2 separate regions of the Homo sapiens genome follow, and region 2 is linked to region 1. Evidence: promoter capture Hi-C in 16 types of primary human blood cells and fetal thymus (Javierre and others, 2016). All regions are on one chromosome and are shown on one strand. Each heading gives the region's core, a stretch centred on a gene start or on the middle of the fragment in contact. The rest is flanking DNA. Distances are from core to core; before and after follow the strand shown. Region 1 holds the start of MYCBP2 (MYC binding protein 2). Region 2 has its middle 200 kb from the start of RBM26.

What was found. The method cuts DNA at HindIII sites, captures the fragments that hold promoters and counts their contacts. A CHiCAGO score of 5 or more calls a contact.
Region 2: a contact is called between a fragment that was not itself captured here and the fragment with the promoter of MYCBP2 in region 1, in 1 of 17 cell types (total B cells). The highest score is 5.0, in total B cells.

What each region holds. Positions count from the first base shown.
Region 1 is chr13:77,325,363-77,328,718 of GRCh38, reverse strand. It overlaps MYCBP2 (MYC binding protein 2), which reads left to right and starts at 1,625. Exons shown (of 83, transcript NM_015057.5): 1 at 1,625-2,245. The coding sequence starts at 1,944. LOC127898562 reads left to right here and starts at 1,731. Exons shown (of 1, transcript NM_001414702.1): 1 at 1,731-1,814. The coding sequence starts at 1,731. The coding sequence ends at 1,814. It overlaps LOC107984564 (a long non-coding RNA gene), which reads right to left and starts at 1,674. Exons shown (of 2, transcript XR_001749930.2): 1 at 1,584-1,674; 2 at 521-1,455. RefSeq lists enhancers at 1,146-1,475, 3,146-3,325 and silencers at 1,666-2,045, 2,086-2,205. The HindIII fragment of the contact is 13,146 bases long and covers 421-3,356 here.
Region 2 is chr13:79,200,092-79,203,416 of GRCh38, reverse strand. No RefSeq gene overlaps it. Among named protein-coding and RNA genes, the nearest start is that of RBM26, 200 kb to the left of the region's middle. The HindIII fragment of the contact is 3,482 bases long and covers 104-3,325 here.

The DNA of each region.
Region 1 (3,356 bases), core at 376-2,875:
CTACCCTGCTAGGTCTTGCAATAGTAATGGGCCCTCTCATTGCTTACCTGTCAGGCCTTAGAATTCTTAGAATTTAGCTGCCTCTACACCATTGTCTTGGTTCTCACTCCAGGGTTAGGGGCTGCCTGGTCAACACTGAGGTCTTTAACTGTGCTGAAGCATTAGGATAGAAATTTAGTCTAATAAATACTTACTGGATACCTACTACATGCAAAGTCCTGAAGTGGCTGAAGGAGACACAAAAGCAGCAAGCTCTGAAGGAACTTAGGTAAGGAAACAAGACAAATACAAAAACTTAACAGGGCTAATTACAGTACTAAAATACTATGATTCCACATGTCTTGTCCTTTGTTCCTATGTTTATCCCACTGCTAATTATCTTTAAAAAAACTAAATGAAATCCATCCATTATTTAAAGCTTCAGAAAAAAATGCATTGCTTTCAGCAACCTTCCACCCTAAAACTAGAATTAATTTACTTTCCTATTCCTTGTTGTTTGCACTTCTCAAACACTAAGGAGGATTTTTTAACATTTATTTTATTTTTTTTTAAGAGAAGGCCATCCGAAGAAGAGGCACAGATATAAGAACTAGTACATAGATGAAAGATACAGTACTGGGATGACAGAACTTATAAATTATTTTGTCAGGACTGTAAATTAGGAAACTCTTCAAATTGAGAGTCAAAGGATAAAACGTAGTAGGAATCAAAGTGCATTGGCACGTATATTTCTAGAGCATATACTTAGATGGGGTTCGTAGGTTAGCTTGGAACAAAGGACTGAGCAAATGTTACTTTTTTATAGACAACAACAAGATATGTGATGGATCTGACATTTTCAGACGCTATACAGTCTCCGTCACAATTATTGTTTCAGATCGCATTCAAGAATTATCTTTAAAAATGTAAGTTTGGGCAGAAAAAAATAAACCATTAAATGACCACTGCCAAGAGATAAAAGTGCACTCTTAGGTGAGTGAGGAGTCAATAAAAAAGAGTAATTTAAAAAATATTATTGCTCCGTTGAGAACAAGAATTTGGGAATGACTCTGGCTTGTGAATACTAGCCTATCTGTTATACTTTCACACACAAAATACTTTCACACACAAAAAAGAATGTGCTAGATTACTACCTGTCTTTGTAAGTAAAAGCTGTGTTAAACAAGCGTAAATCCTAATGACAAAAACCATATAAAATAAGATCGCTAAAGGCACTTCTAATTGGGATGGTTTTCTCTGCCTTAAACTCTGAATTAACCAGCACAATTCACAGTAAATCTTCCTGTTGGCAGCAGAGCCTTGGAGAAGAGGTAGCAGAAGAGCGTGCCACTCCTCCTCTGGCGATGGGCACGTTCCCCCTTGCTTTCTGGTCCTCGTTCTTCCACCTGGAGGGAACCTGAAGTCGAACGTCAGTAGCTGACAGCCTCCCCAGCACTTTCCTTACTCTTCTTCAAGCTGCCAGTAAAACCCGGAGAAGTGGACTACTTCAGATTCCGCACAACCCAACAGCCCCAAACCCAAAGCCCCGAGGCGGAGGGAGTGGTGGCGGAGAGGGGGTGGGGAGGAAAAGGGGCGGCAGTTACTGAGCATGTGCGAGGAGTGGCGCATGCTCTGTGAGGCCGGCAGCTTCCCATTGCGGGTAGCCCCGGCGGTGGTGGCGGTGGTAGCGGTGGTGGCGGCGGCAGTGGCGGCACCGCCTCCTCCTCACATTCCCGGGGTGGCGGGGTTAGATGAGCGGCCCCAGTAGCGGCGAGGGCGGCGCGGGGGGGAGGAGGAGAAGAAGGAGGAGGAGAAGGAGGTCGCTGTCTTTGTAGTCTCCCTGCTGCGGGAGCCAGAGGCCGCCGCCGGAGCCGTCGTCGTTGGAAAAGGGCTGTGTGTGCGCGCGCGTGTCTGCCCGCCCGGCCCGCGGGGACGAGGCGGCGGCGGCGGCGGCGGCGGCGAGGATGATGATGTGCGCAGCGACTGCCTCCCCCGCCGCCGCCTCCTCGGGGCTCGGCGGGGACGGATTCTACCCAGCCGCCACCTTCTCTTCCTCCCCGGCGCCGGGGGCGCTGTTCATGCCGGTTCCCGACGGCTCCGTGGCTGCTGCGGGGCTGGGGCTGGGGCTACCCGCCGCGGACTCCCGGGGTCACTACCAGCTGCTGCTGTCAGGCCGGGCCCTGGCCGACCGCTACCGGAGGATTTATACCGCTGCGCTCAATGACAGGGACCAGGGGGGCGGCAGCGCTGGACACCCAGCCTCCAGGTGCGTCCCCAGGGTGCCCTTCCTTGCGCCCCATGCCGCCCTTCCTTGCGCCCCATGCCGCGCGTGCACCCGCGTGTGTGTGTGCTTGCGTGTGTGTACCTGCGCATTTATTGAGCTTTCAGTCCGCTCTGGATGTCTGTTGGCAGGAGCACTTATCGAGATAGGAGGGTGCGGTGGCTGCAGTTTCTCGTGTGTGTGTGTGTGTGTGTGTGTGTGTGTGTGTGTGTGTGTGTCTGCCTGCCTATGTGGGGGGATAGTGAGGGGTGGTAGGGGAACCTGTGATGCTGGAAAAGGCGATGGTGCTGGTCGGCTGTGACACGTGTGTGTATCGTTGAGGTAGGAGGTGGCATGGGTAGAGAGGGTAAGAGGATGATACACGAAGAGAATTGCAACAGTGGCAAGGGAAGTGGCGTTTTCAGTGTCTCTGCCGCAATGTTATTTGCACGTGCCGCCTCTCCCATGACATTCCTTCCAGCCCTTTCCACCTCCCTTCAATCTGCCTTTCACCAAGAGGAGTCATGGTATAGATTGGTTGAGTTTTGGATAAGCAGGCCCGAGGGATAGGCGTGAGGTTTGCTTTAAAAAGATTTATGAATAAGGGACGCAGATGGAGATCTGTGTGGATGCGAAAGGTGTCTGATAGAGATTTTTAGAGCTGTACTTTGATAACCGGGCCTTTTGGTCTTCTAGAAATGAGGTTGCAGTTACTCTTGTGATCTGATGTCCCATCGGCCATTTCTCTTCATCCTCTGTTCGATTTCCTCTGTTACTTACAGGCTTTAGAGTAGAGAGGGTTTTGTAGGGAAAAGGGGAAAACTGCAGAACTTCAGAATATGACAGCTGGTACAGCGTTCAACTGCCACTAGCTAGAAAATCTGAATAGCGCGTAGATTTGTCTCTTTTACTTGGGTTGGCTACACCTTCAGCTTCCTTGATGTAGATGTTCAGTTGGTTTCATTTTCTTTTTCTTAAAATGTGGGTGCTTTTTTTTGCTGAGGGCTCTCCTATTGTTTTCTTTTCCATGCCCTTACATGCCGCATACCCTGAAGGTTGGTGACTGACTTGTTTCACCAGCTTTGACAGTGGTAATTGGGAGTTGGCTTCATCTTTT
Region 2 (3,325 bases), core at 595-3,094, 1.9 Mb before region 1:
TTTAGCCTTTTGACTCTTTTGTAATAACATTTAGCTTAAAACACAAACACATTGCCGAGTTGTATAAAATACTTTCTTCCTTTATGTCCTTATTCTATAAGCTTTTTTTCTATTTTTAAAAATTTATTTTTTAGCATTTAAACTTTTTTGTTACAAACTAAGACACAAACATTAGCCTAGGCCTACATGGGGCCAGATTTATCAATATCACTGTCTTCCACTTCCACATCTTGTCCCACTGGAAGGACTTCAGGGGCAACAACACTCATGGAGCTGACATCTCCTATGATAACAATGCCTTCTTCTAGAATACCTCCTGGAGGACCTGCCTGAAGCTGTTTTACAGTTAACTTTTCTTTTATAAGTAGGCATACACTCTAAAAAGGTATAAAACTACATAGTAAATACATAAACCAGTAACACAGACATTTATTATCATATCAAGTATTATGTACTGTGTGTGATTATATGTGTAATACTTTTATACAACTGGCAGTGCAATAGGTTTGTTTACACCAGCATGAATAACGTGTTGTGCTATGATGTTATGATGCGTACAATGTACTAGGTGATGGGAATTTATCGCTCTATTACAATCTTAGGAGACCACCATGGCATATGCAGTCCATCACTGAGCAAAATATTTTGTGGCGCATGACTGCATTTAATTTTTCTTTCTTTGACCCTTCAGGTGTTGGCTGTTGGCAGGAGCATTTCCCCAACAACGTAATGTAGGTGATTGAAGAAAATTTTTAAGTTTTGAAATTCCAAGGGACTTAGAGGAAATGGACTTTCCTGGAGATGTGGCTACCTGAAAAAGAAACAGTATTAAGCAGGTGGATTGGATCCTATTTTTCAATGGGTAGACTGTGTGAGGAAGGGTTATACATCAACTTAATGGAGGGAGCCAGTGAGATGGGGAAAGCTGTGTGAGGGACGATACTCTCTGTAGCCTGTTAGAGCTTCAGACACATTGTTGAATTCACTAAGTTGACGAATGTAATTGCATTTCTTGTGGAAAACAGTGAAATATTTTTGGTCTGTACAGTGACTTGTGAGAGGGCAGAACTCGGGTGTCAGATCCCCATATAGGAACTGAGAGCAACCAGAGGAATTAAGGTCAAGAGTCCACAACAAACATCAGTGTTACCCTTTTTGAGAAAAAAAATCCACAAAAATTATAGGGAGAGAGCTCAATTCACAGGGGCTATGAAGCTGGGCATTTTGATCAAAGTTGAGCTAATATTCAAGGGACAGAAAGGCTGTATGTGACATTTGGGCCACATTGTCTGACAGTACTCATTCAGCCATGTGGTTGTTGCTGGGACTCAAAAGTGAGTTAATTACTTTGATACCAAATTTTGGACTCGTGTGCATCCTAATGTCCAGCTCCTGCTCATAAAACAAAATAGAGAAGAAAGGGTCACTACACACATACTATTATTTGAGAGCCTCCTGCAATGGGCCATTAGAAAATATGTCATAGCATGTGTCCTAAAAAATTAGACTAATGGTCAGTGCTAGTTGCGGAAGAAGCCCTTTGTAGATAAGCATCACTGGAGAAACACAGACCAAGAGAGGTAAGGTCTCTTTAAATGCCACTTTGGCCACCCTAGATTTCACGGTTGATAAAACTGATCTTGGAAGAGGAAAAGATGGGCACGAAATTCGTTAATAGGAGGGAGTAAGACTGAACAAAAGTGTCAATCCAGGGTACCAGCTCAGACATTAACAGTGGGTTGATATGGGAATGATTGCTTTCCATGTCTCCATTCCCACTGCCAAGCTGTCTATATAAGAAGGAGCAGGGAGGAGGGGAAGAACAGGTACCTCTCACCATTGGTGAGGAGGTGACTCAAAGGTGGCCCAAGCCTGCCAACAGTGATTATTCTCACATCTGTGATTCTCTTGTGAGAAGCTGATCTCTCTAACATGTGTAAACACAGGAATTTATTTACCTCCTGCCCTTTGGAAGGCTTCAGCATCGTGTCAGATAGATTAAGAAAATATTTAAACTGCCTCGGATTCCATAAATCAATTGTCAGGTTCATTTGTGGTTAAGGCAGCCACCTTGTTACACGCAGGTTGTCCCTCAGGAGTTTCCAATAAATGAACATCTGGATAGAAGTAGGAAGAGTGATGAGGTCTTCTGGGTTTAAGAGAGGAGAAGCTCCGGAAACCATTATTGTTTTTCCCGGAAAGAAGTAAGACCACTTGTGGGGTTGGGCCTAGGGGAGAAGCCTCAGCCATAAATAAATATGGCTCTTCTCACCAATTCTTCAGGGTGAGAAGTTGTAGTGAGACAGCAGACGTGTTATTCCGCTGAATTCCAGAGTGAAAGTGTAGGGCTGCTCCATATCCCAGAAACAGTGAACGTAGGCCATGGTGGGCGTGGACATCTCCCAGAAGCAGTGGACATAGGCCATGTGGGCGTGGACATCTCCCAGAAGCAGTGGATGTAGACCATGGTGTGTGTGGACATTTCCAAGAAGCAGTGGACAGGCCATGGTGGGCGTGGACATTTCCCAGATGCAGTGGATGTAGGCCATGGTGGGCATGGACATTTTTTAAGGGTCTTGGTTCTCTCAGAGGTGGAGGAGCAGGAGGCAGGCCTGTGGGCTGGAGAATGCTGTGTGGGGAACAACGACCTCTCTTTCTGTAACTGTCAAGCTGAGCTGACTTACTAAACTCACAGTATTCATGAGGGTCATTGGCTTTCTCATGGGAAATAGTGCAGGGTCAAACTGAGATGGCAGATCTCATTAGGAATGGAAAAGCAGACAGGTCAGAAATATGCCAAAAATGTATGGAGGATTCTGGACTCACATAGAAGTGAAATCAGGGGAGCCAGCTTGACAACTCTTTGAGGGACAGGGTAGCCCCAAATGATGCCTGGTTTATAATAGATGCAATTTTAGTAAGATTTCTAAAGGTTACTTCTTGTAGTTTTCAGTAGCCAACATGGCATCTTAGCACTCCAGACCCTTTTGGATACTATAAGTGCCAATAATGATCTTTCTGGATTCTACGTTTAACCTGATGGAAGAGACATGATATGCAATTAAAGAAAGTAGTCTCAGAAACATGTTTTTCCTACTCTTAGAGCAAGGTAGTCCACCAGAAATCTAATGCATGGTTATGTTGCCTTATTTATGTGTAATACATTTTACATTTATGGAATGGCAATGGGTTTTGAGATTTATGACTAAAAGAAACAAAGTGAAAAGCACCACCACCACCACCACCAATGATAGCAATACTGTTATTGAAGACTTTTTGTCCTTTGCTTTACTCGGAGTACTCTTGATAAGGTTCTACTTGAGAA